Linked DNA regions of Homo sapiens: region 2 is linked to region 1. The links are contacts of gene promoters, found by promoter capture Hi-C in human tissues and cell types (Jung and others, 2019). All regions are on one chromosome and are shown on one strand. Each heading gives the region's core, a stretch centred on a gene start or on the middle of the fragment in contact. The rest is flanking DNA. Distances are from core to core; before and after follow the strand shown.

Region 1 (6,407 bases), core at 1,368-3,867:
CTGAAAAAAATCATAGCCATAAAAGCCAATAATGACAGCAGAAGTCTTTTTATTCAAATCTCCCACCTTACAGATGTCCAGAATAATCAACATATTTCAAAGGGTATATTTCAAAAACGTACTAGCAACTCAGCCAGCCACTGTCACATGGAATAAGAAGACATGCCCTGGCCATTAGAACCATGCTGTCCTCGCTCTTGTGTCCCTCCACGGGACAGACATCACCTTGCAAGACAACTCGTGCCACTGTCCCCAACAGTTTTCCACAGAGTTCTTGTTTCCCTTCATCTGAATCTTCTCTGTGCAATTTGATGTCCTGAACTATTTCTGACGGTTGCACACAAGATCTCAGGGACTGGACCTTTTAGTTATGAGACCAGCCCTCTTAGACAGCAGACAGTAGGTACAGTGCTTGCTCTCCCTTCTTTGCATCCTTCCAGAGTTGCCTTCATCCTCATTTCCTGCATCTGGTAAAGTCTCTCTGAAAATGTGAAACCGACGACAGAACATGGCAAGCTGGATGGAGAAGCCGACAACCCCTCCCCCACTCTCACCCAACGCCGGGCCGGTCCTGTTTCGGATCCTGCACACTGTGGAAGCTTCTTGCTTCCTTGTTTTGGTGGGTGAAATCTTTGCTGTTCAAAAAGGTGTTTTTGCACAGAAATTTTAGGACGTGTTTATTCTAGTAACGTAGTGTTTTCTTTTTTCGCTATATTTACATGTGGAGAACTCCAGGGAGGCCCCCACCAGAGATCCCTTAAATGCTGGTCTCTGTCCCTGCTTCTCGGCCCCGCTGGCCTTTTGGAGCCATCGTGCTTCCCAGTCCGCAGGCAACAATCACAGCATCACCTGCAAGGGGCAGCAAAGTGAACCGCGGACCCCTGGAGTGACGCCTTGGAGATGGACCCTTTGGATTTGGGAACCCCTCTGACGGCCGGGACTCCCAGGATTCCCTTCCATAGAGGGAGTCCACGGTGGTCGCAGCCGGCGGCTGAGTCCTCCTTAGAGTGCCGAATCAGAGAAGACCCGCATCAGGTTTGGGATGTAAGTGGAGAGGGAGAGGTTAGAAAGAGGCATCATTGGATAAGCAAAGAATGCTACCCTGGGAAAAGGAGGCAGAAAAGACGTAGGGAAGTATGTTCCCCTTAATCCCTTCCCCGTGCCGCCCGTAGATCCCTGGATCTTCTTGTCACGGAGACAGGCTGCAGCCACACACGCGACCCCGGGCCGGAAACATGCACACGCGCGCGCACACACGCACACACACGCCCCGCTGCGAGTTGCACGCTGCAGACTTCTGCCTGACTTCCCGGCCAAAAACACCGCACCTCTGGGGCCAGACCACGAATTCCTGTGGCCTAGAACTGACACCACTCCCCCTACCCCCGCAATACACACATTCAGACCCTACACTGCACCCTGAGCGTGCCGGGAACCACTGAACGGAAGCCCGAGCAGCTCCCCCCGTAAACGACTACCTTCCCCACTGCCTAATGTCTATTTAAATCTCCTAAAGCTCGCCTACAGCGAGCCGAGGTGCGTCCAAGCCGGGTAGTAGACGGAGGAGGAGCCAGGGGTGAAAGTGAACCTCAGATAACAGTACTAAATCACTATTCAAGGGGCGGCACGGGGAAGCCTCCAACCCTCTCCTGAACCTTTCAGGCCCTACCAGCAGCCCAGTTCCTCCGCCCGATACTGCACAGCTCCCCCCCTCTTCACCCAAATCCCTCAGCGATTTTCCAGTCGGCCCTCCAGGCCACTTTCTACATCCATCCTTTCCCCAGCCAGTTCCCAACATGTGGCCTCGGGTACTCTAGCGGGAGACAGATTCCAGGCTGACTCCATCATGATGTGCCCCCTAGCCTTTTACTGATTCCCCAAATTATCCGAATCCACTCGCCCCTCCGGAGCCCACTGTCCCTTCCACCGGCGTCCTTTGCTCTCGTCCAAATCCGCTTTCCACGCGCCCCACTTTCCACCCATCCTCCTGCCGTTCTGTTCAAGACACGCTTGCCCTCCACTCTGCGCCCCCAACACTGCTCTCACGCTGCTCCCACTCTATCCCCCGGCGACACCCCCACTTTCCTTCTGCGGCTGTCCCTGGCCGGGCTCCCGCGCCCCAAACCCAGCCTCCCCGCCCGGTCTCCTCCCTCGCCGCCCGGTCTCCTCCCTCGCCGCGCGGTCTTTCCTTCTTCCCAAGTCCGCCCTCTGGGCCCCCGCTGGAGCTAGTTCTGCCCTCCTGCTCTGCCCGTCGTCCCCGCTCGAGCATCCCAATGGCCACCCGCTTTCAAATTGGCTAAGTGGCTCGGAGAGGCGCCAGGCACAGGGGGCAGAGGCCAGCCGGCTCTCCCGGGCGCCAGCCGCGCCTCTCGCTATCCCTCCTGGACTCCCCCGGGCGCCAAGCCCTCGCCCTAACGCCCAGCAGCCTCACAAACTTACTTGCGGGTCGCCAGGAGGGGGCTGCGGTGAGCGGCGGCGGGCCCCGCGGCGGCGAGTGCGCCCCTCTCGGCGGGGCTGGGCGGCGCGGCGCCGGCGCTGAGCTCCTGTGGCCGCGAGGTGAATGGGCTCAGCCTGACGCAGCCCAGCTCTAGCCCCGCTGCTGCCGGCGCCGCTGAGCGCTTGCAGACATGCTCAGTTTCCGGACCTGCCCGCGTGGAAGCTACCAAGAGCCGGCAGCGGCGGGGGAGACTGAGAGGAGCCGTGGGGCGCCGCGAGCCGGAGGCTACCACGCCGGGGGCGGGGGGAGGCACGCACCGCTAAAAATAGCTCCTGCGGAAGCCACGCTGGCTTAGCGCGCACCCCTCCCCGCGCGCGGCCCCTCTGGCTGGGGTTCGGGTTTCTGCTCTGGCTACCGCGGTGGGGACCCCAGCTCGCCGAGTCCTGCCAGGCGTCTGCCTGCACTAGGATCCCCATCCCGGTGGAGACGGCGCCTCCAGTTCAGGCGCCCACTCGAATAGCCTGGACTAAGCCAGAGCTGCCCCGATTTCGGGGTCCCGCCTGTCGGGCAGCTCTAATACTAGGCTCTCCCTAGAGAAGCAGAGGAAAGTTTTGTTAAAGCGATAAAAAAGCTTCTGCAAGGAAAGCTGCAAGGAAATTTGTTCAGATTTACGGAGGAAAAAAATGTTCTTCAGATGCTTTGGTTGCTGGGAAAAACAAGGAGGAAAGGAAGGCGAAGTCTGACAGCCTAGAAAGGGACCCAAGGCAGCTTGGAGCGGGCTGAAGGGGGTTCTGCAAAGAGCTTCTAAAATTCAGAATTCTTTGCAAGGCGTTTGTGACTCCTCATTCCGCAGTGTTTTGCATAATTCGTTGACACCCCACCCTGACCTTGGAGATTTTCTTGTTCCTGTCACCTGAACTGTAATTTACTTTCTCCGCATGCTGCCTTCACTCCTTCCCCCTCCAACCCGGTTTTAAATTGCAAAACGAAAAGGGCGCAAACTCTGGATGGGTAGATTCCCAGACCTGAACTGGAACCTGGCTGTTCTGTAACCCTGAGGAAAGGAGCTGGTCCTGTTGCCGAGTTCGGGATGTATCCCAGATCTCCTGTGCATCCAGCAAACACTTCAAGCGTAGGAGCCTTTCAGCCACCTCACCTGCAAATTAGCTATTTCCCGCTATTAGTGTTCACTCTATTCTACCTTAATTTCTGATCATTTATTATTATTTTTTAATTCTGTTCTTTAAAGTAAGAGGTACAGATATTTCCTGGGTCAAATTTCCGTCTTGTTTCACTCACCTCTCACAGCCACCCAATGAGAGAATCATTATTATTCCCATTTGACAGACAGGGATGTTGAAATTTAGCGACAGGAGCTCATCGCTTGTCTGGAATAATAGAGTGTTGAACCTAGGGTCGGCCAGACTAGAAACTTTCATGGTTTCCGCATAACCTATTTCCCCGAGTCAATAGCTTTACCTGAGATAAGGGATCAAGAAAATTAGATACTATTCTGAGTGGCGTGGCGTGTCAACAGTAAGCCGATTGATAAGCCGATTGCGGGTTTTGTTCTCCATTATTTTTACCTAATTTCTTTACGAGCATTCGCAGCTTAAATTTTCTGTTATGTTGAAACTGATAGCGTTTAATTTTTATTCTATCAGAAAGATTTTACTGAGAATCTTCTACAAGCAATGTATAGACTAGGTATGTATTTTATAATTATCTCAGTTCAGACTCTGTGATAAAGCTACTTTGTTTTCCCAGTATTATAAATTAGTTAGACTTTGCTAACCCTACTAAGTAATGTACATGTGATTTTTTCATAGAACTGTAGTGGAATCTGTCTATTTGGGTCAAGATGTCCTCCCTCCTAAGATATTTGCGCCCTTCCATCCCCACTTGCAATTTAGTGCCATGTGCACCCCAAAATAAGTAATCAATTAAGGTTTGATCTTTTACTTTTTTACTGAAGCTGCAAATATTATCTGCAGGACCAGGGCCACTTTATAATGACAACATCATGTTTCTAATTTTCCATAGGTGATTCATTGGGAGATCAAAATGTGAATTTCCTTAGACTATCAACACAAATCATTCCTTTCTATCAGTGGTGAAGGAAGGTGAAAAATAAACTTTACTTTCATCCTGGTTGCTTTCATTCTTCCTCTTTCAGTAATTATTCTTAAGGTGGTATGGCACTCTGAACATCTTCATGCTACAGCATGCACACTACCCATAATCATGAAACAGGGAAAATCTTGATTTCAAAGTCTCTTTGGTGTCCTATGGAAAAGTGTAGCTCAAAAACGTACTGCATTGAGGACTCGAAGTAACAAGTGACAGGGATGCAATTCTAACTTAGGCAGAGAAAATGCATTGACCCGTGTAACTCAGAAGTACTAGAAATAGCAGGGCTTGTCCTGGGCTTAACAACATTAGGAAGAATATGATTTTCTCTTTCTCTAACTTGCTTTCGGCATTGCTTCCTGTGTTGGTTTCATTCCCCTCACATTATGTCCATAGTGCCAGCCCTACACAGTTGACAAATTTTGTAACCTTACAAAGAAATCAAGTCTCTTGTTCTGTTGAGCAGATCAATCTTTGAAGGTGTACTCTTATTGGCTGTCCTGGCTCACACAATCAACCACCTGCATCCTCTTGGGGATGAAAGATTCTCAAAAGGGAAAAAAGTATTTGGTTAGCAAAAGAAGGAATAGGGGATGTTTGCAAGATGGAAATAATGGATAACCAGTAAACTCATAGACTGGCCTGTTTCCCCATGGACAAAAAAAGGACAGCAAGTGTGTTGGGAGGTCCGTTGGTTTCAGTTATTCAGAAATGAGCAAGATAATAATAATGCTTTGAAGTGAACTTTTCCCATCTCTTTTTAGGCTCAGTTGCTTTGATTTGCCTGCCTAAGGGTAACAGAGAGTCCCCTCTTTGTTGCCTTTTCATCTTTATTTCAGGGCCCTGGTTATTTCCAAGGTGGTGCCACTCATTAAAGACAGCTAATGAGCCACCCAGCCAACTGACGCTTTCAGTCCCCAATCTGTCTCTGCAGGAAAAGGATGTTTTCCATATTATTAAAGCCCATTTTTTTTGTTTTGATCTAATGTACTTGATCATTATGTAAACCATTTGATAATAAAAAGTGGGGGTTTTCCCATTGTGCCTCAAAACATGAACAGATGGGGGAAATGCTGCTGTCCTTATAGTTTTGTATTATTTCTTATGCTAGAATTATTTGAATAATTGGCTGTCTTTTTTCCCTTTACTTATCTTATGCAATTTGTTTGTTACCTCCTTTAATATTTGTTATTCTAGGAATAAATCAATGCAATCCATGAGTCATCTCATTTAAACTGCATTCTATAGTTACGTTAAACTTATCAAATCCAGGATCTTTTCCTTGAACTTCTTCTCATGACTTTGTACATTGTCTTCTAGGAACTCCTCCCTTAGCTCTGTCACACCACAGCAAACATATTTTTTTTTTTTTCTCTGAAACGGAGTCTCACTCTGTTGCCCAGGCTGAAGTGCAGTGGCACTATCTCAGCTCACTGCAACCTCTGCCTCCAGGATTCCAATAATTCTCCTGTCTCAGCCTCCCACATACCACATCTTAACCTACACCTCAGATTATTCTTCTTTTCTTCTCCTAGTTCTCATCTCTGTAGTTCTTTGTCCCTCTCTACACCACACTGCCTTTTTGTTTTAGTTATCTACATACTTGCTTCTCCTCCCCCACTAAACGGCAAGTTTCTGGAGGATTGGGGCAATGGCAAATTTATATTTGTGTGTATTTTATCTTCGTCAGTGCTCAAATAGGTGCTTGCTGATGCATTGAGGGATTATAGGACAGGAAGTGAATATTTAAGTCTGAAACGGGGAATGCATGAGGTGGGCACTAAGTCATCTGCTTTCAGGGAGTCAAGGAAACATGGAGAGAGCTGATGCTGGAGGTAGG
Region 2 (6,755 bases), core at 1,422-3,921, 1.5 Mb after region 1:
CCTGTCTGTGCATGAAACTCTAGATGGAACACCAACTTCTTTGAGTCTCACTTTGTGTGTATTCATCCACTTATTCAAAGAATATTTATTAAGAATCTACTGTGTTCCAAGGACTGTGGTAAAGATATAAGAGCAAACAAGATATGGTCCCTGCCCTCAAAAGACTTAAAACTAGCAAAAAATACTGTTACAGAAATGTCACTGAGAGGAGCATGCATTAAGCTGTTATCAATAACACCTTGTCATGTTTTCTTTCTCCATGAAAGGAATGAAACTGCCTATTAGACCCTCAAAGAACTTTCTCAGTATTATTTCACCTGCCGTTTGAGGTTTGTAACAGAAGATTGTACAATCCGGTCTTACACCAAGTAATTTAGTTCTCTTAACTTGGAATATGAAAAAGAAGACAGCATGGTGAAACACGTGCCCCTTAAAATATAAAATACCATTTTATTGTACAAAATTAATACAAATTGAATAAAGCCAAAAAACTCATATCTCAATATGAAATGATTAAGTATAAAAATAATAGAATTAGAATCCAGTGGCTATAACCCATAGCCTTTGAGTGTACTTTTGAGTCTCCTGAACACATTTATTCTTTAGGTTTGTTCATTTGGAAACTCTCGAGTTGCTCCTAATTAGTCACCAGTCTTTCCCTTGACCTTACTTTGGATGTTTAACACTTGGTACTAGTTATGCTGGGCTTTTCCATCCACTTCCTTGGCCTCCAATGGTGTTTCATGCTGATATGCTAGCAACCTGATTATTTCATTAAACTCTATCTCAAGCTATGTCTTATATGCTCTATTCCTACTCGAATCCTAGCATTTTCTGAATCTAATGCATAAACTCTTAAATCAGTGGTAATCAATTGAGGATGGTTCCTCCTCCCCCAAGGACATTTAGGACATTTGGCAATGATTGGAGACATTTCTCATTGTACAAAGGTCGGGGCAGGGGTGGGATGGGGACCAGATGTCAGAAGCGGGAATGCTACTGGCATTTAGAGGGTAGAGGCCAGGGATGTTGCTAAACATGCTACAGTGCACAGGACAGTCCCCATCAAAAAAAAAGAGTCCCAAATATCTAGAGGCTGAAGAACCTCTACTTAGAAGAGGGTCCAGAGGAGACATACAATCGTAGGAGTCCTATCAAAGCAGACCTGGGTATGTTAAAGAAAAAATGTGTCTTTTAAGACAGAAGATTTTCATGTAATAGTCCAGGCAAACTGTCACCTGTCAGAGCTTAGCTTTTACAGATTACTAAGTGGGCCTCCTTTTAATTTAAAAGTCATAACATAGTCCAAACATAACCTCACATAAAACATTTTTATGCAGATCGAACCTCGGGGTTTTCGCACTTCATTAAGAATTAGTTGACAACTAGCAGGGAACAAGATAGGAAAAGAAGCCTTTAACTGCAAAAGTGGGAAATATCAGCATGCTTGTATTTGCTTGACAGTTTTCCCTTGACTACACTGAACTTTATCTGAGCCCTGTGTTCCCTGAAAGCAGCTACAGTTAAAAGATCCCCCTGAACCCTATTGTGTCCCAAAAAAGGGCACATCACAAAGCACCATCTTGCCCTTCCATATGTTTCTCATGACTCAGATAAGATTTGCTTGCTAGGCAGGGCACAGTGGCTCACGCCTGTCCCAGCACTTAGGGAGGCCAAGGCAGGAGGATTGCTTGAGCCCAAGAGTTCGAGACTAGCCTGGGCAACATAACGAGACACACACACACACACACACACACACACACACACACACACACACTTTATATTTACGAAGACTCACTTTCTGTCCACCTTTCCTTGGGACTCCTTGTTTATTTACCTCAGTAGAAAAGGTTTTCTCTTTCTTTGAGATGGTTCTGATTAATGAACATTTTCTCTAATGTTGAATAAAGCCTGAATAAAATTAACTGCTTAATAGTTTTTTACATCCTATCTTTTTTTTCCACTATATTTTAGGAAGCCAGACCTTTGGACTGCTCAGGGGAAGACTAATATCACCAAATCTCCTCCAGAAAATGCAAACCTCTGAGAAAAAGAAAGGAGTTAGATTTCACTTTCCCATCAGCCTTCCTTAAAAAATATATATATACATATATATATATATTTCAATTTATTTATTTATTTATTTAACTTTTATCTTAGGTCCAAGGATACACGTGCAGATTTGCTACATGGGTAAATTGCATGTCACAGGGATTTGGTGTACAGATCATTTTATCGCCCAGGTTAAGAAACATTGTACCCGATAGGTAGTTTTTCAATCCTTACCCTCCTTTCACCCTCTACCCTCCAGTAGACCCTGATGTCTGTTATTCCCTTCTTTTTGTCCATATGTACTCAATATTTAGCTCCCACTTATAAGAGAGGACATTCAATATTTGGTTTTCTGTTCCTGTGTTATTTTGTTTAGGATAATGGCCACCAGTGCCATCCATGTTGTTCCAAAGGGCATGAACTCATTCCTTTTTTGATGTTTGCTTAGTATTTTATGATGCACTTGTACCACATTTTCTTCATCCAGTCTACCATTGATGGGCACTTAGGTTGATTCCATGTCTTTGCTATTGTGAATAGTGCTGCAATGAATATACAGGGTGCATGTGTCTTTATGGCAGAATGATTTATATTTCTTTGGGTATATACCCAATAATGGGACTGCTGGGTCAAATGGTAATTTGGCTTTAAGTTCTTTGAGAAATTACCAAACTGCTTTCCACAATGGCTGAACTAATTTACACTCCCACCAGCAGTGTATGTGTTCCCTTTTCTCTATAACCTCACCAGGATCTGTTATTTTTTAACTTTTTAGTAATAGCGACTCTCGCTGGTATGAGATGGTATCTCTTCGTGGTTTTGATTTGCATTTCTCTAATGATCAGTGATGCTGAGCTATTTTTTTTTTTTTTTTTTTTTTTGAGACGGAGTCTCGCTCTTTCGCCCAGGCCCCGGAGTGCAGTGGCGCTATCTCGGCTCACTGCAAGCTCCGCCTCCCGGGTTCACGCCATTCTCCTGCCTCAGCCTCCTGAGTAGCTGGGATTACAGGCGCCTGCCAGCGTGCCTGGCTAATTTTTTGTATTTTTAGTAGACAGGGTTTCACCATGTTAGCCAAGATGGTCTTGATCTCCTGACCACGTGATCCGCCCGCCTAGGCCTCCCAAAGTGCTGGGATTATAGGTGTGAGCCACCGCGCCCGGCCGATGCTGAGCTATTTTTCATGATTGTTGGCCACATGTATATCTTCTTTTGCAAAGTGTTTGTTGATGTCTTTTGCCCAGTTTTTAATGGTTTTTTTTTTTTTGCTTATATATTTAAGCTCCTTATAGATTCTTGATATTAGACCTTTGTCAAATGCATAGTTTGCAAGTATTTTCTCCCATTCTGTGGGTTGTCTGTTTACTCTATTGATAGTTTCTTTGGCTGTGCAGATGCTCTTTAGTTTAATTCGGTCCTATTTGTCAATTTTTGTTTTTGTTACAATAGCTTTTGGTGTCTTCATCATGAAATCTCTGCCAAGTTCTATGTCCAAAATAGTATTTCCTAGGTTGTCTTCCAGGATTGTCATCGTTTCAGATTTTACATTCAAGTCTTTAATCCACCTTAAGTTGATTTTTGCATATGGTATAAGGAAGGGGTCCAGTTTCTATCTTCTGCATATGGCTAATGAGTTATCCTAGCACCATTTATTGAATAGGCAGTCCTTTCCCCGTTGCTTGTTTTGTTGATTTTGTCAAGATCAGATTGTATGTGTGCAGCATTTTTTTTCCAGCCTATCAGCCCTCCTTGATGATGATCTGACAATTACCAGCTGCAGAGGTGTTAGTAAAAAGAGTCCCGCCCAAGTCCAGATGTTGGGGCTCTTTCTTCCATTTGTTAAGGTTAAGAATCTTAACTACTTGCTAGGTTAAGAACATCCCACCTCCTCCCTTTCTGGAAGGACTAACGAGCAGGGCAGTCAGAATAGGAACCCCATGGGACAATTCACAGATGAGATGAAGTGCTGGATGGACCACCCTCCTCCCTGAGCTATGAGGGTCTCTGCTGGCTGGTAGGATGCATGGTAGGGAATGGGTCAGCTCCCAGTGGTTCCTTGGCATTTTCCATCTTCCAAGCCTTTCATGCCCTTCCTCAAAATAGCCCCCGGGTCATTCTCCAGGTGGCCTTTACACTTTAACTCTCTCCTTTAATTCTCTTTCTAAGCTTCATTGCTGCATAAACACTAAGCCCTGCCTGCGCTGGCACTCTCCCTTTTGATTCTCAAGAGCATAATTTGGAAGTCAAAAAGAAAGCTAACTCTTATCTTTACATTCCTGCACTGAAATCCCTACTCGCCTTCAGGCAATGTTCCTGGCCTTAGACTGACAGGTGATGGGGGCAGAGTATGGGCGGAAAGAAGGAAAGGCACAGAGATTAGTACAAAGTAAAATATTGCTGCTAATTCTATCAAATTTCAATGACTGGTAATAATTCAACCAATAAGTCCTGGCAACTGGGTGGATATAAGGTACCAGTAAGAAGGAAGAGGGAAAGATGATACCAAGGTTTTGAGCCTGAATGACTGGGAGGATGGAAGGTGGTAACACTGGCAGAAATGGACAAGTCGTGAGATGAGGGGGTTTGGGAAAGACGATGCCCGTGACTTATATTTAGGACTTGTTTGGGGTTGAGTGATGGGAAGATATCCAAGTGGAATGTCTTCTATGCTGATGGATCATGGCATTGGAGATCAGACAGGGTTAGGGCTGAGGGCATTATCTATGAAGGCCTACATTTAGCATCTATATTATATTAGTAGTCACTGAAAATAAGGCAGGATTTGTTTGCCCAAAGATAAATAGTAAAGAGGGAGGTCACCCACATCGAAAATTCAGCAATGGTGACAGCAGAAACTAGAAGAAAACTAATGTGTATTCTCACAAAAGTCCCAGTAAGGTTTTGTGTTTAGTTGGAGGAAGTAGTCCCCTACATCCCAATGCTGACAGTGTCAGAGGTGTTTCAACCAGAGCAACTCCATCTTGAATAGGAGCTGGGTAATATAAGGCTGAGACCTACTGGGCTGCATTCCCAGATGGTTAAGGCATTCTAAGTCACAGGATGAGATAGGAGGTCAGCACAAAATACAGGTCATAAAGACCTTGCTGATAAAACAGTTTGCAGTAAAGAAGCTGGCCAAAACCCACCAAAACCAAGATGGCCACTAGAGTGACCTCTGGCCTTCCTCACTGCTACACTCCCACTAGCGCCATGACAGTTTATAAATGCCATGGCAACATCAGGAAGTTATCCTATACGGTCTAAAAAGGGGATTCACCTCTTTAGTATATAATTTAAAAAAAAAAAAAACAACATAAAAATGGGCAACCAGCAGCCCTCAAGGCTGCTCTGCCTATGCAGTAGCCATTCTTTCATGCCTTTACTTTCTTAATAAGCTTGTTTTCACTTTACTCCATGGGCTCGCCCTGAATTCTTCCTTGTGCGAGATCCAAGAACCCTCCCTTGGGATCTGGATCCAGACCCCTTTCCTGTAACAAATGTCACGGCAGATGAGTTTGAGAAAACACAATTGAATGTAGTCTCCAGAACATCACCAGCGCCCTCAGAGAAGCACTGGGGGGTGGGAGGGTAGAGTGCGAAGCTAACCTCTGATCCTGCCTGCCCTTATAGAGCCCTGAGAAGTCATCCAGGAAGCTTGAGAACTAGTCTAGAAACAGGAAAACTAAGAATGTTATCCCAAAATTTCACAGTGAATGACAGAATGCCAAGTCTTCTAGGCCTGGAATAAATAAATAAAATGAAGGGGATGTGCTGCCCCTGACACGTGGAGGGCGCAGACCCAAAAGAGAAGTAGATCCTTCAGAGCAAATGTCTACTTCTGATTGAATGATCTGACCCTGTGATTCTCCCACAGGATCTCCAGCTTTCAGCTGCAGTACACCCTCTGCAGTGCCAGGAAACATGACCGTGAGAAAGAAAAATACTTTTTATCTGAGGAATGTGAGCCCCTTTAAATTATCAGGCCCAGAAAGGCATTTGAAATATAACACTAGTCATACCTCACTCGCCCTTGAGCTGATACATACCCCATTTATCCTGATATAATTATTACACATTGTATGCCTGTATCAAAATATCTCATGTATCCCATAAATATATATACCTACTATGTACCCACAAAAATTAAAAATGAAAATAATTGTTTCTTGAAGCCACTTGCAATGTAGGCTCTAGACTAACTGATGCCAAGTAGCCATAAAATGCTGTACACCCTGTACTTCAACAATGTATAGCCAATCATTAACCAGTGTGTCAGAGACGTTTGAACCAGAGTGACTCCATCTTGAATAGGGGCTGGGTAAAATAAGGCTGAGACCTACTGGGTTGCATTCCCAGGAGGTTAAGGCATTCTTAGTCACGGGATGAGATAGGAGGTCAGCACAAGACACAGATCATAAAGACCTTGCTGATAAAACAGGTTGCAGTAAAGAAGCTGGCTAAAACTTACCAAAACCCAAACCAAGATGGCGATGAGAGTGACCTCTGGTGTCCTCACTGTTACACTCCCACAAGCACCATGACAGCTTATAAATGCCATGGCACCATCAGGAAGTTACCCTATATGGTCTAAAAAGGGGAGGCATGAATAATCCACCCCTTGTTTAGTATATAATCAAGAAATAACCATAAAAATGGGCAGCCAGCATCCCTTGGGGATGCTCTGCCTATGGAGTAGCCATTCATTT

Evidence for each region. The method cuts DNA at HindIII sites, captures the fragments that hold promoters and counts their contacts. A contact is called where the count stands out against the background at its distance.
Region 2: a contact is called between a fragment that was not itself captured here and the fragment with the promoter of OXR1 in region 1, in 1 of the 25 tissues and cell types used here (lymphoblastoid cells).

Annotation. Positions count from the first base shown.
Region 1 is chr8:106,266,400-106,272,806 of GRCh38, reverse strand. It overlaps OXR1 (oxidation resistance 1), which reads right to left and starts at 2,617. Exons shown (of 17, transcript NM_001198533.2): 1 at 2,440-2,617. RefSeq lists silencers at 2,263-2,622, 2,643-2,892. The HindIII fragment of the contact is 5,628 bases long and covers 109-5,736 here.
Region 2 is chr8:104,762,027-104,768,781 of GRCh38, reverse strand. No RefSeq gene overlaps it. Among named protein-coding and RNA genes, the nearest start is that of LRP12, 180 kb to the right of the region's middle. The HindIII fragment of the contact is 4,319 bases long and covers 512-4,830 here.